Regions from separate parts of the Homo sapiens genome. Here region 2 is linked to region 1. The links are contacts of gene promoters, found by promoter capture Hi-C in blood cells and fetal thymus (Javierre and others, 2016). All regions are on one chromosome and are shown on one strand. The core of a region is centred on a gene start or on the middle of the fragment in contact, and the rest is flanking DNA. Distances in the headings are between cores, read along the strand shown. Region 1 holds the start of TUT4 (terminal uridylyl transferase 4). Region 2 overlaps COA7 (cytochrome c oxidase assembly factor 7).

The links. The method cuts DNA at HindIII sites, captures the fragments that hold promoters and counts their contacts. A CHiCAGO score of 5 or more calls a contact.
Region 2: a contact is called between a fragment that was not itself captured here and the fragment with the promoter of TUT4 in region 1, in 1 of 17 cell types (neutrophils). The highest score is 6.6, in neutrophils.

What each region holds. Positions count from the first base shown.
Region 1 is chr1:52,548,116-52,555,705 of GRCh38, reverse strand. TUT4 (terminal uridylyl transferase 4) reads left to right here and starts at 2,614. Exons shown (of 30, transcript NM_001009881.3): 1 at 2,614-2,775. It overlaps LOC105378723 (a long non-coding RNA gene), which reads right to left. Exons shown (of 4, transcript XR_007066083.1): 2 at 4,902-5,026; 3 at 4,300-4,349; 4 at 2,869-3,465. RefSeq lists silencers at 1,912-2,311, 2,322-2,431, 2,472-2,601, 2,672-3,001. The HindIII fragment of the contact is 23,021 bases long and covers 1-7,590 here.
Region 2 is chr1:52,677,460-52,685,049 of GRCh38, reverse strand. COA7 (cytochrome c oxidase assembly factor 7) reads left to right here. Exons shown (of 3, transcript NM_023077.3): 3 at 1-601. Among named protein-coding and RNA genes, the nearest start is that of COA7, 17 kb to the left of the region's middle. The HindIII fragment of the contact is 5,380 bases long and covers 897-6,276 here.

The sequences.
Region 1 (7,590 bases), core at 1,365-3,864:
GGTTTGGATGAAACTAAGTTTTCAGAACTTCCAGACTGGAGGCTTAACCACAATCATGAGATTTCCCTTGAAAGTTTAAGTCCTCAGAGGATTTTTACATAGAAATCAGACATTTACCATTTTATATCTCAAAAACCTGTGGTTCAATGGGAAGAATACAGGGCTGGTATTCTAGTCCAGCCTGTGACTTACTGTATGACCCTGGGCATGAATTAAACCTTATACTCCATAAATTTCCTTATTCTTTGTGTCAGAACCATACTTGCTCTAGCTGTGATGATAAAATTATAGTTGTCAAAATTTTCAACTCGACAACTATGTAGGTATCAGAAGGAATACCTTGTAAGTATCTGTGCTGAAGTGTACAATCTATTGGGGTCACGGAATTCAGAGAATAGAGGGATCACATTCAGTGGAGTGCAGAGGAGGGGTGGTAATCAGGAAGATTTAATAAAGAAGGTAGAGGTTGAGCTGGGTCTTGGGGAATAAGCAAGGTAGTAGAAGAGAGTATCTGGAGGGGATAAGGGCAGAGAGGCACTGAAATTTTCAGTCTGGCCCCAGTTTTCTTTTCCAGATTCATTATCTTCTGCACACTCCAGAGTCAATGCTGCCCTCTGAATCACAGACATGTGTCTGGCACACAGCAGACAGATCTTCAAGGTCCAGCTTTTAGTTCTTCCACGGAAGTCTCACCAAAGTGGAATTTATCACACTCTCCTCTGGATTTGCCCAGCCCTTTGTTAATAAGACCTGTTGCTTTTATTGTAGCTCACCTGCTTGCTCAATGGGGAACTTTTTGGAGACAGGAAGCAATGATTTGTCTTTGTTTCCCTAGGCACCTAACAACGCTTTGCTCTTAAGTAATTAGGAAATGTTTACTCAATTGAACTTGTTCTAAGGACACTGCTATCACTGAATTGAAGGGCATGTCGGTATCTTCTTAGTGTCTCTATAGGCTTTAGGCTTTCAGCCGGGTGAAGTAGGGATTTTTTCTTTGTTTCCAGGCTAGTCAAGCGAAGCAGGGATACAGATTAAGAATTTGCAGATGAGGAAACTCAAGAGGGTACATTTGCTCAAAGGCATCATGTTGATAAACGCCAAAACCAGGTAGGGCTCTTTTGACTTGAAATCCAGTCCTCTATCCATTATACCTGGGCCTTGTAGCATCAGCCAGATTGGGGTAAAATGCACTAACTCTGAACCCTAGTTTTTTCATCCGTAAATGAGAGCAACAGTACGTAACTCACAGGGCTATCGTGAAGTGGAGCGTCCCTCTGTGACCTCTAACCAGTCCCAGCCTGAGTCACATTATAAGAAAATTTATAAGGCACTATCTTGTAAATACTTAAGATTTAACATCTTCCCTTCACCTCTACGTCCACTCTTTTCATACCTTTTTCCTGCCTAGCATGTGTCAAACTCAAAGGACTGGGCACAGAGCACAGAGGTTGTGTGCTTTGTCCAGCTTTGAGGTCAGAGATTGGCTAAATAATCTCTGAGGCTGGGGTCTTAAAAAAAAACAACAAAAAACAAAACTAACAAAACCTTAAGTCCGTTCCGCCCGTGACTTTAAATAATTATGTAGAGGAATGTAATACGTTAAAAGCAAGGGGATGAGGGGGCCCATTGATGGTAGATGGTTTTATGCCCGCCTGCAGCTAAAGAAATGATTTCTAAAACCTCTTTTGGGGGTGGGAGATGGAGTGCTCCAGAGATTTCTCTTCGAGCTCCTTCATTCCTGAACTGCCTGCCTTTTCAAAGGAAAAAAGGTCCAGCTGCGGTGGGCTGGAGGCCGTGGTGAGTGGGTGGGGGTCGACCCTGGCGGCTTCCTCTGCCCCGCTCCCTACCGTTGCTCCGAAGCCCGCTTGGGCTTCCGAGGGTCCGCCGAGGCTCGGGCCACGCCCAGTCCGAGTGCCAGGCCAGAGGGTACCCATTCCAGGCCGGCCTTCCTCCCCAGGGGGAGCAGCCTTGGGAGCGAGGCGCCGAGGCGGCCCTCGGGCTCGGCTTCCAGCTCGGGGGCCTCGGCAGAGACTAGGAACCAGACTGGGGCAGCACTGGGGCGCCCGCCACCCCCACCCACTCCGGCAAGCGGGCGAATCAGCGCGGCTAACCCGCGGCGCCCAGGCGGGCTGCGGGACCTCGCGACCTCCGCTCGGCGGCCCCGCCCCTGCCCGCGAGCCCCGGGTGGCTCCCTCCTCCCCTCTGCCAGCGGCCCGCCCCCTCCTCGCGAGCTAACGAGTGTCTCTCGCGCGCTCCCTTCCCTCCGCGTGGGTGTGAGTGCGCGATCCTCCTACCTCGGCCTTCTCCCCATTGTTTCTTCGCGGCCACCACGAGACCCCTCCCCCCAGTGCTGTTTCCCCCCTCCCCCGCCCCGGTGTAAACGGTGCCTGTGGGGCCCCCCGAACGAAGGGAGGGGGCACCCCTGAACCCTTCCCTCTGCGCGTAGCTCCTCCTCTCCCGGGCCAGGACCCCATTACAGGCTCTGTCCTCTCCCCTCCCCCTCTCCCCCGGCAACCGCTCTCCCTCGCCCCCTCCCCTCAGCGGGTCCTCCTCTTTCTCTCCCTCTCCCTCTCCCTCCTCCTCCCCCTCCCCATCCCTTCCCCCCCACAATGCAGTTCGCGGCGCGGCGGACATGGCGGTGGAGTCCTGAGCTAGTCGTGTCCCGGCCTCCAGCGGCGGCAGCGGCGACGGCGGCGGCAGCAGGAGGCGGAGGGAGAGCAGGAGCCACTGAGATGAGGAGGCGTCGCGCGCGCCTGTAGCTCGCGGGCCTCGCAGGTACGAGGTTCCGGCCGCGGGGCAGCGTCGGGTACCGAGGGGGTGTGCTCGGGAAGGCCGGGCGGCCCCCGGTTCGCCCTCCCCAGGTGCCGCGCTTCGCAGGTGTCGGGGGCCTGGCCTGAGAGCGTCTCAGCCGCCCCCTGGGGGCCTGACACTTCTTTCTTTCCTGGAACGGGCTTCGGGTGTCCCAGGGGAAGGCTGAGATAAGGGAGGTGGGGACGGCGGCCTGGGCGGCCTGAGGAGGGCATTGGGGCGCTTTGGGGACGAACTCCACACTGTGGCTGGGGCTCCCGGTCCCGGACCGAAACCTGTTGTAGACCAGCGGGGCGGATTTTGAGTTAACGGGATTGGTTTGAACATTTCTGTTGGGTCCAGTTACGATTCCCTGTCATGTGTACCTTTTTCTTTCACCCTTGCTTAGACATAGGTGACTACATAATGTATATAAATGTATACACGCATATAATACATACTGAATGTTTCCCCGGGCTCGTCCTTGTAGGGAGAAGGCAGAGGTGTCTGTGTGGATTTTGTTTCTTGCTCGCCCGCCTTCTCTCTCCCCCGCCCCCCAGTCGAAAGGTGGTAATGCGCGGTTTTGACGTGGGTAACTGAGATTCGTATTTGTAAACAGATAGCGCTCTCCTAGTGTGTTGCACGCCTCTGCGAAGGGTTTCAGACTCCTGTTGGTATCTGGATTGCGAAAGAATGAGATGTTTAGACCTGAAAGAAGCACATCAGCGGGATTTCTAGTCGTACTTGAATGGGATGAATTACTGTTGTATTAACAACGTTGATTACACATTTTCTTTTCAGAAGATTTCGAAGTCTTAGATGAATTTTGCGTGAGATCTTAGATACCGTATATCTGCTTCTTCATTTTGATAGAAGTAGTAGTTCCTTACACATTTGACCTGCCCTATCGTGATCTTAAATTGTGTCCAGAAATGCAATTCGAATTGTGTATTGTTGGCATGCATTTAGTAATTAGCCCGAGTGGATCAGATGGCCTTTTATTTCCAAAGATTTTTTCCCTCCAGTCTTACAGCAGCGAAATGTTTGTAGCACTTGATGAAACAGAACATATCCTGTTTCTGTTTTTAAAGTAATGAGAACTGTTAGCTAATAAAATTGGATAATCCCAGCCAGATATGATAATTCAGAGAATACCACCGAGAGGTGTTGAATTGTGGGATGGTTTAAAAAGAAAAGCCGACTTTGTGTGTGTGTGTGTATGTGTGTGTGTGCGCGCGCGAGCGCGCTGAAATTTTCTTTAGGCTTAGAACTCATGTATGTCACTACACTGCATCGTAGTACTGATTAGTCACAACTGGTAAAATGAAATATTGATTCTCTTAAAAAGCTGTGCTTAAGATAACTCATTAGTGTCTAGTGTGCTATGTTGCTTTTATAAACAAATTTTTAAAGATTGCTTCTTAGAAACCATATACTTTGGGGAAGATAAGAATTTTAAGTCGTTTTATGCTTTAAAAATATTTATATTTAATATAAACAAAAGAAACTTACTTTTAAAACTCTTAGATAAATTTTTCTGCTGCTTGCAGTTTTTCACTTGGCTAGTGTGGAAAATGAAAAATGAAGTTTTCTTAAAATAATTCAGAAATGGAAGTGAAAGTTAATGACATTTGATGTTTTAAATCCAGCAAACATTTAAATACAGAAAAGAAATTTAAAGTATTTTCATTGTCATAGGCCAAGTTGTTAGTACAGATAAATTAACAAATATTGTCATGCATATAAGTTCAAGTTTATAAATTCTAAGTGACACCTAAAATTACATTTATTTTTAGTTGCTGGAGCTAGAACAGTACAGTGTCTACATTTTAATTTTAGACCTTTTAGAATCAAAATGTATAATTATAAATTTCTCTGATTAACAAAGAGCTGTTTAAAGAGAATTTTTATTAGCTCTCAGCAGATTCATTTTAGAGTAAGTAATTAGAATTCTTTTTTATCTCAAAGTTAATCTTGACATAAAAATAAGTACCATTAATTATGTTGTGTTCTCTACAGAATGTCAAATCAGGATCTGTTGATCAAGAAAGGTGTTTGAATTTATTCACTGTTAAAGTTTCTAGTTTCAGAGAAACAAAATAACCAACACTTACCTGTAGGGCCTGGCCAGGTGGCTCACTCACGCCTGTAATCTCAGCACTTTGGGAAGTGGAGGCGAGAGGATTGCTTGAGCGTAGGAGTTTGATATCAGTCTGAGCAGCATAGTGAGACTTTGTCACTGCCAAAAAATAAAAGAAATTAGCTGGGCGTGGTGGTGTGCGTCTGTAGTCCCAGAAGCTGAGGTAGGAGGTTTGCCTGAGCCCAGAGTTCAAGGTTGCAGTGAGGCACAGTTGCGCCACTGTACTCCAGCCTGGGCGACAGAGTAAGACCCTGTCTTAAACAAAAAAAAAAAAAAAAAAAAGCAATACTTACCTGTTAATGTTGATGCCAGAACATTTTGTTTGACAAAATAGAACTCAATGAGTTGTGTTCCTTTTTCAAATAAATTGCAAATACTTGAATTGATTAAAAAATGTTAAATTCAGTTAAAGCCACTGCAGTAGGATAGAAATACGTTCTAAAAAAGAACAATTCCAGAAAGACCTAAAAAAGTCAAAGGAAAGGGACACCATACTTTAAAACAGGATATGTAGACTTTTTGTTATTAATCTTAGAGCAATTAGAGTTGTTTACTGGGTACTAACTGAATTGTTTTAATTCTAGAATCCTAAATAATTACATAATTTGGGGGAAATGTTTAAAAACCATCATTTCTGCAGAGTATTTTTCTTTCCTTTTTTAAATCTTTATTTTATTATGTACAGACTATATTCAAATAAACCACACACTCTGAAAAAGCAGGTTCCGACTTTTCCTCCGGAGTATTTCTTACAGGCCCAAGGAGAAGAAAGGGTATATAAATGCAAAGATTAATGTTAGGATTTTTCCCCCTTAAGTGAGAGATTTGTGTGGTGTCTTATGTTCAAATTATTTTTATGTCACATCATCTCATTGGATATCTATAATTATGAGTTGAGGGAGAGAGAAGGGAACCAAAACTTTTTAGAGTGCCTGTTTTGTTCCAGGCACTGCGCTAGACACTGTTTATGCATTTTTTTTTCACTCGTTCAGTGTAACAGCCCTTTGAAACCTGTTTATAGGTGAGGAATCTTTGAGTCACAGAGGTTAGTGATTTGCTGAAGATCATAGAATTAGATTTCAAAGCAGATCTCTCTTCCTAATATAATGTATATGTGATGTTGCTTTTCAGGTGTATTATTTTCTCAATTATTTAGAATGGGAAACTGCCTAAGGTTGTTCATTCATTCATTTAAACATTCATTTCATCAAACATTTGCATTTGTATCAGTCTACATATAATACAGTAAATTACAACACACTAGATTGTGGGAGTTGAGAGGGAAGAAACTAGCTCTTGAAGGGTGAGTAGGAGTTTGCTAGGTGGAGAGGAAGATGGACTGGAGGTTGGAGGTCATTCCAGACCTAGGGAATAACATGCAAAGATGATAAATTGTAATGAGCCTTGGGGAGTGAGGGAGAGTGAGAAATTCAGTGTGGTAGGAATTGATATGGATAGAATGGTGAGATAAATGATTGGAAGTAGCAAATTGTGAGGGACCATTTATGTTGTATTAAGGTGTTTGAATTTTTATCTTGTGAGATCACCAAGTGAGATAGTGGTTGAGCTGTGATTAGAACTATGTTTTCTGACTCCTAGTTTTGTATTTTTTTCTCCTTGGCTTCCTAGCTAACAGAGTTTACCCGTTTTTAGTGGATAGGCAAGCCTTCTTTTCCGTACCACTCTTCTCTCCTCTCCCTATATTCTAGACTTTTATCTTGAGAATTCTGTGATCCAAATCTTACTGTCCAAGAACTTTTAATTTTTTGGAAAAGTCTTTTGGGATGAAAACACCTCTGGGGGAGATCACCTTGTTATACTACTTAGGAAGTTTTTTCACTTGTTGGCTTGGATTAGTTGACTATTTTCTAGTTTAGCTCTAGAAAACAATAGCTTAAGGCATTGAAGAGCATGGGCTGGAAGAAGGGAGACGCTATTCATGCAAGTTTGATGTTCACCACTATAGATGGGCAAAGTCCTAATCTTTACATAAGGCATCTTGTACTTTTAAAAAGAAATAGGTATGTTTGTTAACCACACAACAATCTGATTGCTTTAAGTGGATATTTGATTTACAATGATAATAGATAACTTATTGCATAGTTACTATGAGCTAATTTCTTTCTCAAGATCTTTGAAGTGTTAACTTAGTCTTCAAAACAACCCTTTTTATATTATTCTCATTTATAGATGGGAAAAGTCCATGTAGAAGGATTGAGTACCTTGGACAATATCTCATAGCTAGTTTGCTGCAGTCAGGATTTGAACTCAAAGTGTCTGAGTCTAGAGTCACAGCTCTTTGCCACTGTACTGTGTTGTACCTTCAAGTTTAGGGTGTCAAAATTTTGTGTACAGAGAGTTAAATTCTGTAGTCACATAGGTTGTTAAAAATATTTTGCAAATATGCAAAGTATGAATTATAGAGAATGACTAAGCCTGATTGCATTTTGTCAGTGTGTAGTTTAATAATATAATTATTAAATTAAATATTTAACTAACACTATAGTTTAAATAATTTAATTGACCAGTCATTAAGTGTTCATTAAGTGCTAGTCATGTGCTGAGTATTAGTTTAGGCCAGTGGTATTCAAACTATGGGGACCTTTTGGAGAGGGGTGTCTCTGAGTCAAACTGTTTTCATGGTAATATTAAGACACAATTTG
Region 2 (7,590 bases), core at 2,337-4,836, 130 kb before region 1:
AAACTCAACCCAAAATGTCTTTCAGTAGGTAAATGGGTAAATAAATTGTGGTGCATGTAGTCATTATTCAGTGCTTAAATCAAGCTATGACAAATTATGAGTTATCAAGCTATAAGAAGTCACAGAGGAACTTAAATGAATGCTACTAAATGAAGCCAGTCTGAAAAGGCTTCATATTAAATGATGCCAACTATATGACACTGGGATGTATTCTGGAAAAGGCAAAACTATGGAGACAGTAAAAAGCAGTGGGTGGGGGAGGGGAGGGAGGAATAATTGGAGCACAGAAGATTTTTAGGGCAGCGAAACTACTCTGTATGATACTATAATTATAAATACCTGTCATTGTACATATGTCCAACCCCCTAAAATGTACAACACCAAGAGTGAACCCTAATGTAAACTGTGGACTTTGAGTGATAATGATGTGTCAGTGTAGGTTCATCAATTACTGCAAATGTACCTCTTTGGTGGGAGATGTTGAAAATGGTGGAGACTATGCATGTGTGGGGACAACAACTATATGGGAAATCTCTGTACCCTCTCAATTTTGCTGTAAACCTAAAATTGCTCTAAAATATAAAGTCTATTAAAACCACAATGATATTGCCTCATATCCCATTAGGATGGCTACTATTAAACACCAAAACAAAGTAAGTGTTGTCAAGGATACAGAGAAATTAGAACCCTGTGAACTGGTGCAGCTCCCCCAAAATGAAAAACAGAATTGCCGTTTGATCCAGCCATTCCACTTCTGGGTACATATCTGTGTTAGGCCATTCTTGCATTGCTATAAAGAAATACCTGAGACTGGGTAATTTATAAAGAAAAGTTTAATTGGCTCAGGAAGCATGGTGCTGTGCATCCTATTGGCTTCTGGTGAGGCCTCAGAAGCTTACAGTCATGGTGGAAGGCACAGGGGGAGTCAGTGTATCACATGGTGAGAAGGCAAGAGCAGGAGCAAGAGAGTGAGCAAGGGGAGATACCACACACAAATCTCCTGAGGACAGCACCAAGGGGAGGGTCCTAAACCATTCATGAGAAATCCTCCCCATGATCCAATCACCTCCCACCAAGCTCCACCTCCAACATTGGGGATTAAATTTCAACGTGAGATTTGGGGGACAAGTATCCAAACTATTAATATCCAAAAGAATTGAAAGCAGGGTCTCCAAGAGGTATCTATACCCATATTCTTAGCAGCACTATTCATAGTAACCAAAGGGTAGAAGGAACCCAAATGCCCATCAGCAGATGAATGAATACACAAAAGGCGAGATGTACATGCAATGGAATATTATTCAGCCTTGAAAAGGAAGGAAATTCTGACACATGCCACAAAACATGGCTGAATCTTGAGGACATCGTGCTAAGAGAGTCACAAAAAGACATGCTGTATAAGCCAGTCACAAAAAGACATGCTGTATATGAGGCATCTAAACTTGGGTATGAGTTGTATATAAACTCAGAAACAGAAAGTAAAATGGTGGCTGCCAGGGGCTGGGGTGAGGAGGAAATGAGTTTTTTGTTTTTGTTTTTGTTTTGAGATAGGCTCTTGCTCTGTCGCCTAGGCTGGAGTGCAGTGGCACTATCATAGCTCACTGCAGCCTCTAACTCCTGGGCTCAGGTCATCCTTCCACCTCAGCTTCCCAAGTAGCTGGGACTACAGGTACACACCACCACGCCCAGCTAGTTTTTGTATTTTTTGTAGAGACGAGGTTTTGCCATATTGCCCAGGCTGGTCTTAAACTCCTGAGCTCAAGTGATCTTTCCGCCTCGGCCTCCCAAAGTTCTGGGATTATAGGTGTGAGCCACCATGCCTGGCCAAAATGGGTTGTTTAATAGGTAAAGAGTTTCAAATTTGTAAGATGAAAAAATAATGGAGATTGTTACACATCAAATGTGAATATACTTAACACTACTGAACTATATGTTTAAAAATGGTTAACCCAGCCTGGCTTACATGGTGAAACCCTCTCTCTACTAAAGATACAAAAATTAGCTGGGCGTGGTGGCATGCGCCTGTAGTCCCAACGACTCAGGAGGCTGAGGCACGAGAATCACTTGAACCTGGGAGGTGGAGGTTGCAGTGAGCTGAGATTGCACCACTTCACTCCAGCCTAGGCAACAGAGTGAGACTCCATCTCAAAAAAAAAAAAAAAAAAAAAAAAAAAAGAGGTTAACATGGTAAATTTTATGTTTTACCACAATTTAAAAAAAAAACATATTGACTTTTTAAAAATGCAAGGTTTGAAGTTTTTTTATTATAAAATTAGTATGTTCTCATAAAATGCAATTTGAAACAGAAGAAACCATCACCCCTCACTATTCTTTTATCACCTATGGGCATTCTTTGGCACAATAGCGTTCTCACTATTTAACCATTTTTTTAAAGAATCATATCTTTTTTTTTTTTTTTTTTTTTTTGAGATGGTGTCACCCAGGCTGGAGTGCAGTGACGTGATCTCAGCTCACTGCAACCTCCACCTCCCAGGTTCAAGTGATTCCCCAGCCTCAGCCTCTTGAGTAGCTGGGACTACAGGCGAGCGCCACCACAGCCGGCTATTTTTTGTATTTTTAGTAGAAATGGGGTTTCACCATGTTGATCAGGCTGGTCTCTAACTCCTGACCTCAGCTGATCCACCCACCTTGGCCTCCCAAAGTGCTAGGATTACAGGCATGAGCCACTGTGCCCTGCCAAGAATCATATCTTTTCAACTAACAGGTTTTGTAATTTTTTTTTTTCTTTTTGAGATAGGGTCTCTCTGTGTCACCTAGGCTGGAGTGCAGTGGTGCAATCATAGCTCACTGCAGCCTCAACCTCCTGGGCTCAGGTGATCCTCCTACCTCAGTCTCCCAAGTAGCTAGGGACTACATGTGCGTGACACCATGCCCAGTTAGTTTTCATGTTTTTTGTAGATATGGGGTCTCGCTGTGTTGCCCAGGCTGGTCTCAAACTCCTGGGCTCAAGCGATCCTCCTGCCTCAGCCTCCCAACATGCTAGGATTACAGACATGAGCCACTTGCCCCACTGGGTTTTGTAATTTTGAAGAACTAAGTTTGATTTTTGGGTGGCAGATGTACTGGATTTTTTTTTTGAGATGGAACTTCACTCTTGTTGCCCAGGCTGGAGTGCAATGGCATGATCTCAGCTCACCGCAACCTCCGCCTCCCGGGTGCAAGCAATTCTCCTGCCTCAGCCTCCTGAGTAGCTGGGATTACAGGCATGTGCTACCACACCCGGCTAATTTTGTATTTTTAGTAGAGACAGGGTTTCTCCATGTTGGCCAGGCTGGTCTCGAACTCCCGACCTCAGATGATCCACCTGTCTCGGCCTCCCAAAGTGCTGGGATTACAGGCGTGAGCCACTACACCCAGCCTTTTTTTTTTTTTTTATGGACGAGTTCCTACCTGGGACTTCTGGTACTTGCCTTCCTGAGTCACATACTTAGTGGGGCAGGGAACAATAGAGTGAGCATTAACTGTGTCAAAATGTTATATTTCCCTAAAGTTATTAAAATGCAAAGAATAATAATTTACTGTTCAGAATGGTCCAAGGCCATTTCATACCCAGGCTACTGTGGGAAGCAGTAGGTTGGTAAGAGCCAGCATGGATAAGTTTCTCACTTTAATGCAGCCTTTGAGGCAAGGTTTGAAAATCGCTTTTCAGACTCTGGTCACAGCAAGCAGTATCATTACTGTGTCTTCTAGCCAGCAGGCATTGGATCATCATTAACAACTATTTCCTACGTTTTTCCTCCATGCTAGGCTTGGGCTGGATACAGGACATTCAGAGCTGGCCTGATGGTCTGTCTAATGGGAAAGACGGTTCATAATTGACTCTGGCGGTTTGTGTTCTCACTAAAATCTTTTTTTTTTTTTTTGAGACACAGTCTCACTCTGTTGCCCAGGCTGGAGTGCAGTGGTGCGATCTTGGCTCACTGCAACCTCTGCCTCCCGGGTTTGAGAGATTCTCCTGCCTCAGGCTCCTGAGTAGCTGGGATTACAGGCCACCACGCCCAGCTAATTTTTGTATTTTTTAGTAGAGATGGGTTTCACCATTTCACTATGTTGGCCAGGCTGGTCTTGAACTTCCAACCTCAGATGATCTGCCTGCCTCTCCCTCCCAAAGTGCTGGGATTACAGGCGTGAACCGCTCTGCCCGGCCAATGCTCTCACTAAAATCTGACAGTATGGTGCTCAGTACTGTGAGGAAGGAAAGGAAGAGTCCCAGAGAGGGAAGGGAAAACCTGAGGGTATAGAGATTTGGCTTTTATCTTGTGGGTAATGCAGAGTCACGAAAGGGTTTTGATCAGGTTTGGAAATTAGAAAGATCATCCCCAGTGCAGAAAATGAATCACGGGGGAAAGACTGGAGGCAGGAAGACCAATGAGGAGATGGCTGCAGATGTCAAGGTGAGACATGGTGGGGCCTGAGCTAAGGCCTGTCAAGCAAGGAAGGGAGCACAGGTGAGAGGCCAGACAGCTGAATAAGCAAAATTGAGCCATGCGGGGGTGGGAAGAAGGTGGGGTTGAGCATGAGGTTGAAAAATATAAACCAAAACAGGTTTAGCTTGGGCATCTAGGTGGACAGTGGAGCTATTCATATTGATTTGGAGCCTGTGGTGTGGGGATGGGGACAAGAACTCTGAACTGTTGGGTGATTTTTTAAGTTTTATAAATAAATAGCATTTTTATTTGTTTTATGAAGTTGCTTGAAAAATTGTATGAAGGGCAGCGTGGCAGAGGGAAAATGCCTAGACTTCAGATCCTACAGATGTGGACAATTCTGGATTAGTCAAAGGCAGAATACGCATGTATATTTAGGACACCTAACAAAGAATGAGAAATATATACATTTAAAAATAGTAATGTTATATTCCTTTTTTTTTTTTTTTTTGAGACAGAGTCTCGCTCTGTCACCCAGGCTGGAGTGCAGTGGCTCGATCTTGGCTCACTGCAAGCTGCAAGCTCCGCCTCCCATTCTCCTGCCTCAGCCTCCCGAGTAGCTGGGACTACAGGCTCCCGCTACCATGCCTGGCTAATTTTTTGTATTTTTTTTTAGTGGAGATGGGGTTTCACCGTGTTAGCCAGGATGGTCTCGATCTCCTGACCTCGTGATCTGCCTGCCTCAGCCTCCCAAAGTGCTGGGATTACAGGCGTGAGCCACCGCTCTTGGCCTACATTTCTTTTAAAGCATCAAGTAATCACTTTGTGGGGGGAATGAAGACTTTTTTGGGTTCTTTATGTTCATTTTGCAGTTTAGATCTCTTTTATTGTGAATTCTATATTAGGGTTGGTGGGGGCGGGGTGTACCAGACTATTTTCAGTTCTTAGGTCTAAAGGTCTTAGCCTGGGTTCTGACCTGAGTTTTGCTTTTTATTGGCTGTGTGACCTTAGACAAGTTACTCTACCCTCTTTTCGGATTTTGTCACCTCTCAGGTGGGGATAACAATGTCTTCTAGTAGGGTTGTTAGGAGGAGTAAATAGTAACTCTTATCGTAGAATGATAAATGCTGATTTAAAAAGACTTTTGTGGAATGAAATCTTACAATTAGATAATTGTCTTTTTTCTGAGTGGTATTGTTACCTTGTGAGGGAGTCTAGCTTTTAAAACAGCCTGCCTTTGCTGCCATTCTTTGAATATCCAGGGAGCTGACGGTGAGGCTCTCCAGGGGTACTGATGGCACAAAACAGCTGCAGGGGGCATGCCTGGGGCAGGGGAAAAGTAGGGGGCTGCCCCTACTTTTTCCCTTCTCCACTGCCTGAGCACAGAGTCACTGAGAAGACTTGCACCTGCTGGGGGCCCAGAGTGGAAACTATTCCCAGCTGGTGCCCCTCCCCAGGCTTGAGGAATGGTGATTGTATTACAGTTTATAAATCAGGCCTCCCCACTGTCTAAAGGGGAAAGGCCAAAATTCTTTGCCCAGTGTGTCTCCCCACTCCCATGAGATGATCCCTGCCTCCATATTTAGCCCCATCTTATTCCTAACTCAGGCATCTTTGCATCAGGGAACTGCTTGTGGTCTCTGCACCACCTGCCCCACCCCCAAAATATCCCTATCTCTCTCTCTCTCTCACACACACACACACACACACAGAGAGAAATTAAGTGGTGATGGATGCGTTCATTAATTTGACTATAGTAATCAGTACACAATGTATATCAAATCATCACACTGTATACCTTGAATATATACACTTTTTGTTTATCCATTAAATATTTTAAAAGAAAAAGTAACAACAAAATACCCAGGCTGTTTCTTACAGCCAAGCTTTTGCTGATGTCTGGGTCCACCAAGACCTACGGAATGAAAATCTGGATTTTAAATAAGAAAACCACGGGAAATTCTTATTCATACTAAAATGGGCAGCCCACTCAAGTGGTGTAAAGCCGCAGCTCCTTAGCTTGTCACTACAACCCCTCTGCAGTCTGGTCTCCACACCTTCAGCTCTTTACAATTCCTAATAGTCCTTTAAAACTTAGCCCACATGTCACCTCCTCCAGGAAGTCATCCTGGACCCTCAAGTTCCGTGGTCTTCTGATAGTCCTTGTGCTTCTCTCAGTTCTTTCTTTCCTTTTTTAAAATTTAGTGGGTTTTTTTGTTTTTGTTTTTTTTTTGAGACAGAGTCTCACTCTGTTGCCCAGGCTAGAGTGCAATGGCATGATCTCGGCTCACTGCAACCTCTGCCTCTCAAGTTCAAGCGATTCTCCTGCCTCAGCCCCCCAAGTAGGTGGGATTACAGGCACCTGGCATCCTGCCTAATTTTTGTATTTTTAGTAGAGATGGGCTTTTGCCATGTTGGCCTGTTGGCCAGGCTGGTCTCGAACTCCTGGCCTCAAGTGATCCATCTGCCTTGGCCCCCCAAAGTGCTGGGATTACAGGCGTGAGCCACTTCGTCCAGGCTTAATTTGATTTTTTAAAAACAGAGACAAGTTCTCACTATGTTGCCCAGGTTGGTCTCAAACTTCTGAACTCAAGCGATCCACCTGCCTCAGCCTCCCAAAATGATGGCACTACTATGCCCAGCCTGTCTCTGTCCTTTTCACATGGTTTGGGACAGGCTGTTAAGTGCCTGTCCCAATAGATTATGTCCTAATAGATTATGTCTCATTTCTATTCCCTGTGCCTAGCTCAGGATCTGGTACAGATGAGATACATAATAAATCTTTATTGAAGGAAAGGGAAGGGAAGGGAAACTCTCAGAGACAAATGCTATCTTCCAGTAGATCAACTGAGCATTGAAAAGGTAGCGTTTTGGAAAAGAATCTGGATTTAAATAATTTCTCTGCAAATGTGTTATGTTTCCTCTATGAGCCTCATTTTCCTCATCTCTAGAGTAAGGATAATGTTTACTTTTCAGGGTTAGTGTAAGGGTTAAAGGGTTTAATGAGATAAAGTAAGTGCAGTGCCTGGCTCGATGCCTGGCACATTCTAAATTGTGTAATAGCTCACTGGAGGGCTATCTTTCGGAAGCAGAACTAGGCTTGTTCTGTACAGCTCCAGAGAGCAGAACTAGGCCCAATGGATGGAAGCTGCTAGGAGACAGAACTCAGTTCATCGACATCTGAGTGGAAGAAAGCATTTTC